Linked DNA regions of Homo sapiens: region 1 is linked to region 2. The links are contacts of gene promoters, found by promoter capture Hi-C in human tissues and cell types (Jung and others, 2019). All regions are on one chromosome and are shown on one strand. The core of a region is centred on a gene start or on the middle of the fragment in contact, and the rest is flanking DNA. Distances in the headings are between cores, read along the strand shown.

Region 1 (6,260 bases), core at 211-2,710, 130 kb after region 2:
ACTCACACTGTCCATCACTCACTTGCTTCCATCAGACACTCATACCCTCTTCTATCAGACACTCATACCCTCTTCCATCAGACACTCACGCCCTCTTCTATCAGACACTCATACCCTCTTCCATCAGACACGCACACCCTCTTCCACCAGACACGCACATGCTCCTGTCTGTCATAGCCTCTTTCATCAGACACCCCCTCTTCTCCCATCAGACGCCGTCTCAGTGCCAAGTTTGTACCAGTTTCTGAATCGTCCTCTGCACACACTGCTCAGCTGACTGCCTTCCTGCATGATGAGCACAGCAGCAGGGGCTGCAGGTAATTTCAGGAAGTGGAAGGACACGGGGTCAGGAGAAGCATAGTTCCAGCTCCCCAAGCTTTGCTTCCCCAATGAAGCCCCACCCAGCCAGGCTGCCCCACTAAACGCACATCCCCCAAATCTTGATCTCACCCCAGCACAGATGTCACAGAAAAGGTTTGAATCAACATCTAAAGTCACCTCAGTGTGGAGCAGAAATTGAGAAGCAATTCCTTCCATACAAGGCAGAATGCCTTCCTAGAGAGAACAGACAGCTCGACACCCACAGGGGACGCCCGGGCTATTTTGGGAGGCTCCTTTCTGGGAATGCCAATCCTGCCCCACAGCCGCCTTGAGTCACTGAGAAAAGCTGGCGGCCCCCGCCTGGAGATGGGATTCCCCAGCGAGGCAGCGTCTCCACACACCATTCACACGACGCATTGATGCATCCTCAGACATCTGATGGTGAATGGGGCAGATGTCTCGTCTGCTTGCCCCCAGGCGCACACCATCTGGGTGCACGGATGACAGGCACATTGACCCTATGTCTCAGAGCGTCAGAGCAATGTGGGTGTGTCTGGAGAGAAGTTCAGGAAGAGAAGAGGACTCTCCAGGCCATAAGATGAGGCCTGGATGATGAAAGAAACCGCCCAGGGAAAGACCTGGGATGGGCATCCAGGCAGAGGGGATGGAGTGTGTCCACACTAGGAAACAGCAAGCAGGGATGTTCTGCCGACTGAGGGCTCAGCTGAGAGGTGCTGGCTGCTGGTCCACATGCCTGGGGCAAGCCCCATCTCAGCAGCCAGCAGTCCTGACTTCTGGGATGCCGGGGAGGATGTGACTCCAGGCACTCTGAGTCCAAAGCCGACCTTTTCACACCCTGTTCCCCACCTCCTCACACCTGCTCCGTGCCCAGCATCCTGGGCTCAGGGGCTGGCTCCAGCCACCACCCAGGCACACACCAGACCCCTGGGAGAACTGGCTCCTCTTACTCCCTACGTCCAACACCCCAGGAAGCTCCAAGTCTGCTGGGTTCTGCTTGCATCCATCCATCCGTCCATCCATCCATCTGCCTCTCTCCATCCCCAAGGCCACTTCCCTGATCCAGGCCACAAGCCTCAGCCCTGGATGATGGAGACTTCCACACTGTCCACCTCCCTGCCCACAGCAGCATAACTCTAACTCCTACTCCCACGATGAGCTCAAGCCCGGGTTCCCACCATCCTCAGGACAAACTCCAAGGCCCTCAGCAAAGCCTTTCAGTTTACGGTGACCCCTCCAGCAGCCCCTCCTACTCCCACCCCTCCCAAAACTCCATGCCGGGTGATGGCCCCACGTCGAGCTGCATTTACCAATAAGTGGCTGTTCACACTGTCCCTGTCCGGCAAAGATGTCCTTCTCCTCACACGGGTCCGCAGCCCCACTGTACCCCACACACCCCCATTATTACAATTGTTCTGTCTTGTCCCTTTTCCTCCAAATCCCTGACACGCATAACCAAAAAAACAACATAACACCCTATCTGCAATATAAAGGAGGAAAAAGGAAATTAAGTTTTAATCAAATAACACATATTCCGATAGGTAAGTAAGTGCCAGGCATGGCTGGATTGGGTGACACAGCACACAATGCCAATGCTGCCGCTACAGAAAAATCACCATCACAGTGCCAGCCACCAATGCAGACAGACCCACAGCTGCCACACTGGTCACTCCATGCCCTGAGAGACACTAGTGGAGGAATGCTTCTTGGTGAAGCTCTGGACAAAGCAAGGTTCCCTCCCCAATCTGTGGGAGAGGTTTCTGGCATTTTGCATTCCAGGAGACGCCACCTGTAATACAGCTCCACCAAAATACCTCCTGTGTGTGTCCACAATGCACTTGGGATGAGGCTCAGGTCATCATAAACAGGCTTCGGACTCTCATGAGTGTCCCAGGGACATTCAGAAGTCAAGTGGAATGGGGGGCCAGTCTTCATTGCTAAGGGAGTGCCCCATGGCTGCAGAACACCTGCCTCCCGGGACCATCCTGAAAATACAGCAGGAGCTCCAGTTGCTGTGACAATCCACAGAGCTGCCCTGAGTTTCCAAAAGGCAACAGAACGGCTGGCCTGCCTCCTGTGTCCTGAGGGCATAGGAGGCAGGGCAACTTCAACTCCACCAGGAAGCCCCGCCAAGCTTGGTGCAGTGGGGGGCTTCTGATGTCGGGAAGGTGTCCCATGCCTCTTGTGCCCACAGTGACAAGCCTTCAGGCCAAAGGCTCCTGCCTACTCTGTCCTCCCAACCCCACCCTGCAGGAGAAATATGTCCCCTGGAGCCTGGGCTCCCTCCCAGGGCAGCACAGAAAAGAACTCCAGGTACGTGGAGTTGGCCTCCCAGACTCTCCAGTGTCTCTTGTCCTCCACCTCCTGGGTGCAGCCAGTCTCCTCTCTGCACCTCCATGGTCTCACCTGGTGAGACTGAAAGGAGAGAGCCGTATGTGAGGGGGCTAGCCAGGCCGCTGTGCCCTGGGCTCCGCAAGCTGCACACCGCACTGTCTCCATCACTGTTGCTATTTCTGTTTTGTCAGCCTGGCTCTGTGGCCCACCCTAAGCCAAAAAGGGACTCTAGACTGCCCTGCCCAGGGTTGGGTTAGTGCCCCTGGGATACAGATGAGATGAGTCCTTCACCCTCTGCACCAGGAACAGCCCCAGTGGTGGTGGGGAGGGGTCTCGCCTCCAATCAGCCTCCTGGAGCCGGGTGTTCCAAGGGCTCAGGTGAGGCACCAAGATCACGTGCACCCCCGCCCATGAAGGCCAGCTGGTCACCAGCACCAGTCTCTCCGGATGGTTCCCGGGCTGCCCTGAGAGGCTTCCCCAACCCCACCGTGAACATGCCCCTTCTACCTCCTCTTCCAGGTGCTAAAGACAGCAACATGGACACCAAGGGACATCCAGGTCACCTTCCATCTGGGGACTCTCAGAGGTACTGAGGAATCACCTGGTGCCTGAGAACTATGGGAGGGAAGGAGGGAGGGAAGGAGAGAAGGGAGGGGAGCAGGGAGAGGGAAGGATTCAAATCCTCCGGAGGAAAACCAGGCCCTTGACTTTCAGGACCAAACTCGCATCTACCTGTAGAGAGGCACTTTCTGTTCTCACAGTCAAGGTAACGCAGAGAATGTCATTCACAGTGACACCCAGCCCTGCCAATGCTACTTTTGAAAGGAGGAAAGTGGAGTGAGGAAGAAAGGCCAAGAACATGTGTGCAAAGAGGAGGGAGAGACGCACCCTGCAGGGAAGGACGTGAGAGAGGGAAGCAGAGACAGCAGGCGTAACAGGCAGGGCCAGGACTGTGTGTGCAGAGCAGGCATGAGAGACAGGGCAGGGACAGAGTGTGTGGGAGAGTGGGTATGAGAGGCAGAGTGAGGACAGTGTGTACAGAGAGAGCAGGTGTGAGAGGCAGGGCCAGGAGGGTGTGTGCAGAGACAGCAGGTGTGAGAGGCAGGGTGAGGACAGCATGTGCCCTGTAATGCCAGGTGTAAGGCTGGGGCAGGGGAGCGCACTGGAAGGAATGTGCCCCACACCCCACTGGGCCCCACCACCCTGCCTGGCCTCCTTGGGTCCCAGCCAAGGGTGAGCCAAGCCCAGGTTGAGTCAGCTGGGAAGAACCAAGATGCTGGCCCCACATTGGCCCAGACCAGGGACACTCAGCGAAGATCTGTGCTCAGCCACCAGGACCCAGAGGCCCGAGCCTGTGGCAGGGAATTCCTGGAGGGAGACAACCTGCTGAGGAGCAGAGCTCCAGCCTCCTCGAAGCCCCTGAGCACCCCTCCCCTCCCCCACCCCACTGATCTCCCTCCTCCCCATACCTTGTCCTCCTTTGGTCATGCTGACCTGCTGAGCTGCCCTTGCCCAGCGCGGCTGCTACAACACAGTCCCCTAAGCTCAGTGTCTTATAAACAACAAAAATCCATTTCTCCCTGTTCTGGAGTCTGGGAAGTCCAAGGTTGAGGTGCCAGCAGATTCGGCATCCGGGGAGGACCCACTTTCCCAGAGACAGCATCTTCTCACTGTGTCCTCACATGGTGGAGGGAGCAATGCAGCCCTCAGGGGTCCCTTTTTTGAGGGCGCTAATCCCGCTCAAGAGCACTGCACCCTCATGACCTAATCACCTCCCAAAGGCCCCATGTACAACCACCATCATACTGGGGGTGACACATGAATTTGGGGAGGACACAAACATTCAGACCACAGCACATGCCAAGCTGATTCCCACCCAGCGCCTCTGCCTGGGCCCTTCCCTCTGCTGAGAAAGTTGTTACCCAGATCTCCCCATGGTTCAGCTTAAACCTCTTCTTCCAGAAAGCCCACCCCGACTCCTCCAGCTGAAGTAACTGGCTCCTTTCTGCACAGGTTGCTCCCCAGTGCATTTGTGTATTTTGTGGCCTTCATGGCCAGAATTGATTATTTATGTTTTGAGTACCTCAATGGTAAGAACTGCATCAGTAGTACCCAATGCTGTGTACTCAGGGCCCTGGAACCAAGCCTGGTCCGTGATAAGTGACCAATGAATGAGTGACTGAATGAATGAATGAGTGAATGAGTGAATGAACGAGTGAATGAATGAACAAGTGACTGAATGAATGAATGAGTGTCTGAATGCATGAGTGGATACATGAATGGGACATCAAGGCAACGCCAGGTTTACATTGAGAAACTTGAGCCCAAAGGCTGGTTTTGACAGCAACAAGGCAACCTTGGGCAAGCCACCCTCCAAGCCTGTGAAAGAGACACCACAGTCCCACGCTTGCACAGCTGCCACCAGAGTACAAAAGGCAGTATGTGTGCCAACCCAGGACAAGGCACCAAGCTGGCCAGTTAGGGACTCAGGACCCCTCCAAGGGCAGAGACTTTGTCTACCTGGTCACTGCTGAATCCCCAGCCCCTGCACAGCCTCTCAAGCTGGCACAGCAAAATGAACAGAGAAGCCACTGGCAATACAGGGGCCCCGCTGCAGGGGGCATGGTTCTGGGCTTGTGGGACACAGCTCTGCCTTACTAGTAGAACTGGGCTGCTGTTGTGGGGCAAGTCCAAAGTTCATCGTCATTCACAGACCTCCATGGAAATAACAACCACATGGAGTGTGTGGTTGTGCCAAACAGCACGTCACTGTGCCACCTCCAGATCAGCAGAGGGCAGAAAGTTGGAAAATCCACAATGTTGACAGGAGTGTAGACAGAGCCCCTCCCCCCGCCCCCCCACTGGTGGGGCTGTCAATCAGGGGCATTCCCTGGTGGTCAATGCTCAGGTCAAAAATGACAGATGCATATATTCTCTAACCTGCCAGTTCCAGTTCCAAGATTTCTGATGTGTGTGAACATCCTTCCACATGGGCCTCTTACAGACACACGTATGAGGATGTTCATTATAGCCAAGCACAGGGCAGAGCCTTAATGCCCATTGGGCCTAAAGGACCTGTGTTCAACCCTGCAGTGGAATTCAATGCCATTACAGAAAGGAACCGGGTGCTGCTCCATTAGCCCTTATGTGGAAGGCTCTCCCAGCCAGACTCTGGGGAAGATAAAAGGGAATAAACGTGAATATAGAAACTGCAAAACCACATCATCATTAAGAGTCTAAGCTTTGAACTTGCCCTTTGCTTGAATAGTGGCTTCTCTACAAATCACCTGAGGAGAGAGGCTGTGAGTGAGAGACTGAGTGCAATCTTACATCTGCTCATGAGCTTTCTGCCAACCTTGAATCTGTGAGGGTCAATTTGATGTGTCAACCTGAATGGTATGGGGGGTGGGGTCCCAGTCCCCAGTTACTCAACCAAACACTCCTCTAGGTGCTGCTGTGACGGCGTCTGGTAGATGTGACCAAGGGCCGTGATCAGCTGACTTTAAGTCAAGGAGAGTGTCCTGGCTGAAATGGGTGGGCCTGATCTGATCAGTGGGAAGGCCTTAGATACCGGTTGAGGCTTCTTG
Region 2 (6,169 bases), core at 908-3,407:
TTTCTTCGAAAAAGTATTTTTTGTGTAAGGTTTTAACGGCCTTTGTGCAAAGTTGTTATTTTTGCAGAGCTTTTGTGATAGTTTTAGTTATCAAGCCTACAAATGTGAGAACCCCCTTTTCATAACCTTCTTTGTGTCTATATATCAGGCTTTGTGCCTGTGTGTGTGTGTGTGTGTGTGTGTGTTTTAACATAAGGAACTCCATTCTGATTCTGACAACTTTCGCAGTACCAAGGGCTTTTACGCATTTCCTCATTCACTGGTACAACCACTGGCTCAGATAAATTCAGTTACTAGCTCCATTTTCAGGTGAAGAAAAATAGGCTTAACAAGGTTATGTTAAAACCAGTGCACTGACACCCAGTGCACTCCCAGGTCAGCTCAACCTGAACCTTTGGGGGCAAAACCCAGGCACTGAGATCCCTTGAAGCTCCCTAGGTAAGTTCAACTTGATCCAAGGTAAGGAACAAAGTTAAGCTGGCCTAGGTCCCCAGCGGGCTGTGAAGGAGCCTAGGTCAGGACGCCAAGCAGCCCAGTCCAGAGCTCACAGTTACCAGCCACTGGGCTGCTTCCCACCCTCAGCTGGTATTCAAAGGAAGAAATGATTCCCTCTCCCTACCTACAGAAAGCCAACGAAGCAGATCATAACCAACAAGCGCATGCAACATTACCTCTGTCCACTCTAAGTACAAACAGAGCAAGCCCATGTGTTTCGAATCCTGACTCCACTAGTTTGTATTCCCATTTAAACAGTGGCAGTTGGGGGCAATGGATTTAGCCATTCCATCCCCATGGGTTTGCTCAAATTGCCTTGGATCCAGACAACTGAGATTTCCTCAATCTTATGTAAAGTGTGAACAGAAGTATCATTATAAAACTTGGCAGGGCGCAGTGTCTCAAGCCTGTCATCCTAACACTTTGGGAGGCTGAGGCAGGCAGATCACTTGAGGTCAGGAGTTTGAGACCAGCCTGGCCAACATGGTGAAACCCTGTCTCTAATAAAAATACAAAAACTAGCCGGGCATGGTGGCGTGCACCTGTAGTCCCAGTACTCGGGAGGCTGAGCCAGGAGGTTGCTTGAACCCAGTAGGAGGAGGTTGCGGTGCACTGAGATGTCACCACGCACTGTAGCCTGGATGACGAGACCCTGTCTCAAAAAAAAAAAAAAATTGTGTGTGTTGGCTGGGTGAGGTGGCTCATGCCTGTAAACCCAACACTTCGGAAGGGCAAGGCGAATAAATCACTTGAGCTTAGGAGTTCGAGACCAGCCTGGGCAACATGGTGAAAATCCATCTCTATAAAAAATACAGAAATTAGCCAGCGTGGTGGTAAGTTACTGTAGTCCCAGCTACTCTTGAGGCTGAGGTGGAAGGATCACCTGAGCCTGGGAGGTTAAAGCTGCAGTGAGCCTTGATCATGCCACTGCACTCCAGCCTGGATGATGAAGCCAGACCCTGTCTCAACAAAAGGAGAAAGAAACAAAGAAAGAAAACACGTGTGTGTTGATGTAATCTCACTAAAAATAGTGTGAACTATATAAATTAGTTTTAAACAGGTCCCTTAGCCTGCTCCCACTGTTGCCCCAAACAGACTGGGACCCTTAACTTCCCTTTATATAAATCCAGAGCCCCTGCTACCTAAGCCATTCTCAAGACAGCCAGCCCTGGGTCCCAGCAGGTCACACTCAGTCCCTCTCCCCTCCCTTAGCCTAGAAGGGGCAGGGCCAGCTTGTGCTTTGCTTTCAGTTCCCTGCACCTGAGCACTAGGCTGCAGGCTCAGCTTACCTGCAGCAGCCACAGCAGCAGCACTAGAAGCAGCAGCAGCGAGGGGTGCCTCCCGGATCTCATGGCCATATGGGAATACCCAAGACAGACCCAGAACGTGCAGCTGATGACCAGTCCTCCAAGCTGGTGGTCTCACCGGAGCCACACACCTCCTTCTCAGCCAGCAGCTTCTTCTCTAAAGGTTTTCAGGTCACTTTGGCCCAGATGCTTTCATCCCATCTTGCTCCTCCCTTTTCAGCTTTTCTTGCATTTATCAGAGTGGGGTGGGCTGACTTGTAAGCTTGAACATACGTTTGCCACAAGTAGAGTTCCTAGGAAGGGTGGGGTAGAAACTAAAGCCACCATGGTCCTGCACGTACACAAAAGACTGGCTGGGGTCTGACCTCAGGAACAACAGCTCAGCCAGCGGAAGTAAAACCAGCACCTATCGGAAAGCAGAATTATTTGTTTCTTTGTTTCCTTGTTTGTTCTGGTTTCCAAATAGAAGGTCCAATCATCTCTTTCTATAGCAGGATATGTTAGTGACTATTTTCTATAATCTTATCCTCTTGAACCAAACAAAAAAAACTAGAAAATGACAAGAATGATAACTTTATTAAGGGGGAAGGGATGGGGAAGAATGAAAGAAAAGAAAAATCAACTTTTACTTTCCAAAGCACTAAAAATCGTTATTCCAACAATATCCCAGGGCTCTGGGGTTTTCAAATTATTTCTACTAAAACCTTTTTTAAGCTTAGATTAATCTGCCTTTTTGAGTTTGGAATTAAAGTGGGAGGGAGGAGAGATGGGAAAGAGCCTCCCTATGGACAGGGATCTCTGTGGCAACCCGGGAGTCTTTGCATGAGAATTCTGAAAGAGACAATTTGAGATTATATTATACCAATACTTAAGGTTGCAGTAAGCAAGTTTTAAAACACAATCTGTGATACATTAACCCTGATTACCTTAACATGACCTTTTTATCACATTACCTTGTTTAAAGTAGTAAACAGATAAAATAAAAGGTAAACTTTCTTTGCTTGTTCTAGATATTGGCTTAGGCAAGGATTTCATGACCAAGAACCAAAAAGCAAATGCAATAAAATCAAAGATAAATAGCTGGGACCTAATTAAACTAAAGAGCTTTTGCACTGCAAAAGGAACAGTCAGCAGAGTAAACAGACAACCCACAGAGTGGGAGAAAATCTTCACAATCTATACATCTGACAAAGGATTAATATCCAGAATCCACAATGAACTCCAACAAATCAGTAAGAAAAAAACAATCCCATCAAAAAGTGGGATAAGGACATGAATAGACAATTCTCAAAAGAAGATATACAAATGGTCAACAAGCATATGAAAAAATGCTCAACATCACCAATGATCAGCAAAACGCAAATCAAAACCGCAGTGCGATACCACCTTACTCCTGCAAGAATGACCATAATCAAAAAATCAAAAAACAGTAGACGTTGGTGTGGATGTGACAATCAGGGAACACTTCTACACTGCTGGGGGGAATATAACATAGTACAGCTGCTATGGAAAACAGTGTGGAGATTCCTTAAAGAACAAAAGTAGAACTACCATTTGATCCAGCAATCCCACTACTGGGTATCTTCCCAGAGGAAAAGAAGTCATTATTCGAAAAAGATACTTGCACATGCACGTTTATAGCAGCAAAATTCACAATTGCAAAATCGTGGAACCAACCCAAATGCCCATCAATCAACTAGTGGATAAAGAAAATGTGTATATGCGTATCTATATGTATATATACACATATATGCGTGTATATATGTGTATGTACATATATACACATATATGTGTGTATATATGTGTATGTACATATATACACGCATATATGTATATATACACATATATGTGTATATATGTGTATGTACATATATACACATATATACATACATATATACACACATATATGTATATATATACATACACATATATACACACATATATGTATATATATACATACACATATATATACACATATATATGTATATATATGTGTATATACAGATATATATGATGGAATACTACTCAGCCATAAAAAGGAATGAATTAACAGCATTTGCAGTGACCTGGATGAGATTGGAGACTATTATTCTAAATGAAGTAACTCAGGAATGGAAAATCAAACATTGTATATTCTCACTGATTTGTGGGAGCTAAGCTATGAGGACACAAAGGCATAAGAATCATACAATGGACTTTGGGGAATTGGGGGGAAGAGTGGGAAGAGGGTGAGGGATAAAAGACAACAAATATGGTGCAGTGTATACTGCTTGGGTGATGGGTGCACCAGGATCTCACAAATCTCCACTGAAAAACTTACTCATGTAACCAATATGCCACCTGTACCCCAATAACTTATGGAAAAATAAAATTAAAAAATAAAAATAAAAAAGAACTCATCAAAAATAAAATATAAAATAAAAATCTCCCAATTAAAAAAAAAAAACTTTCTTTGCTTAACTGAACATTCATAGCTCTGAGATGCTGCTGAATATTTTAATTTGAATAGTTTATTTTTATTGAAATTAATAGCTTATTATTGAAAAGAATAATAAATACAACTTTAAAGTCTATAGATATTTCCTGTGCATAAAGAGAAACTGAATACCTTGTGCCTATTTTCAAAGTGGATATTTCTATAATGATAGCCTATTTTTAAAAAACTGATTAAGTTAGAATCACTAATTTAGAATATATAAGTCAGGTGAGCTAAACCATGTTAAATATATGTGAAAAAACCACGTCAGTTGAGCACTCCCTGCTGCTAGAATAGCGCTGGGGACTAAAATATTGTTGCTAGAAAGGCATTAGCCTCACAATGTTCTAGTCTGGGCGGAGCTGGGGGACAACAGTGAAGGATTCCACTTTCACATTCGTTTTAAGTTTAAAAGAAATTGGTATTTTAAAATTAGCCGGGCATGGTGGCACACACCTGTAATCCCAACTACTCCGGAGGCTGAGGCAGGGGAATCCCTTGAACCCGGGAGGCGGAGGTTGCAGTGAGCTGAGATCACATCATTGCACTCCAGCCTTAGGCAACAAGAGTGAAACTCCATCTCAAAACAAAACAAAACAAAAAACACCATAGGAACTGGTATTTTAATATATTAGAAACAAACAAGTTTTCAACATTCTCAAGCGTTTAAAATAACTAAGCAGAATGCCAGTTCCCCACACGGCAACCCTACTTGGGTAGGCCACGGGGCCTGGAACTCAGCTGGTGATTCTGGGCATCACCTGCTGCACATCTTGGGTGAGCCTGAGCTTGAAGATGTCCCCACTCCCTTTCTATTCTGAGCATGTGATCATAGTGACAATAGTCTAGCGCTCCTTTCTGTGTCCTTGGAAGTACAGTAATACTTTATAGCCACATGGTGGCAGCTCCCAGCTCCCTGTAAGCTGACAAGTGAAGAAATGAGATTGCTCATGAGATAAAAGTTACTTGATTGCAAGGGAGGTATGAGCTACAATTACCTACCCAGGGTCAACCTTCTCATGTTTTTGAGGAGTGCCCCCAGCCACCTCCAGTTCTCACTGTTCTTTTTTTAGTAATGATGATTGCATCATGAGGCATCCCCACCCGGCTTGGATTTCTGCGTGGACAGTGGTCTGGCTGGCCAGGCCTCATGCCCAGCTGAAAGGAGGGGAACTTAGGTGGACAGTGGGACTGAGGGAAGATGACAAATGCACCTGACTCTGCCTACCTTTGGCATTTTCCATATGGATCAAGTAAACACCAGAGAAGTAAAGCGCTAGGCTCAAGCCTTCTTTCCTGGCTGGGGAGGTGAGAAGGCTGGCATTCGATGCCTCCTCTGCAGAGGTGAGCCAGCCGCAGTGAAAGGCTGGGAGAGTGGCCTGTTACAGAGGACAGGCCTTAGGCTTTCCCTTAGTCTCTCTTTCTGTCACCAACGCTAGGGGAGGCAGAGCCTGGAAGAGGGAGGGAGCAGAGGTGTCCCAACAGCAAAGCACCACCATGCCTTAGGATCTCAGTGCTGGGTTGGAAGGTGAGGAGGGGCTGCCCAAGCCTCCCCTGCCCACACACCCACCTGGGAGTCCAGCCCACCCAGGGTGGATGGAAGAGATTAGATTTCCATCAAGGCTGACATCGAAGTTTTAAGCTGGGCTGGTTTTACTGACTGACGTGACTGGGTAATGATGAGCCCCAGTTGTAACTGAGGGATTGAAATGGTTTGGTTGAAGGCTCAGATTAAGGAAGAATAAAATGGCTCATGCTTATATGTCCCCTGAGTCAAGACCTTTCTATATTCACTAACACAAAAATAATTTTCCAGCCAATACTTCTGAATTCAATTCCCGTTTCTTCATAGTCACAAGAAAAGTTTAATTTCTCAGAACACTCTTGAGAA

What was found. The method cuts DNA at HindIII sites, captures the fragments that hold promoters and counts their contacts. A contact is called where the count stands out against the background at its distance.
Region 1: a fragment that was not itself captured here is called in contact with the fragment with the promoter of CDH26 in region 2 in 1 of the 25 tissues and cell types used here (mesendoderm cells).

The regions. Positions count from the first base shown.
Region 1 is chr20:59,824,052-59,830,311 of GRCh38, reverse strand. All of the region lies in intron 8 of PHACTR3 (phosphatase and actin regulator 3), which reads right to left. Among named protein-coding and RNA genes, the nearest start is that of SYCP2, 110 kb to the left of the region's middle. The HindIII fragment of the contact is 5,468 bases long and covers 1-4,194 here.
Region 2 is chr20:59,954,411-59,960,579 of GRCh38, reverse strand. CDH26 (cadherin 26) reads right to left here and starts at 2,157. Exons shown (of 18, transcript NM_177980.4): 1 at 1,785-2,157. The coding sequence starts at 1,853. RefSeq lists an enhancer at 5,615-6,116. The HindIII fragment of the contact is 5,804 bases long and covers 1-5,212 here.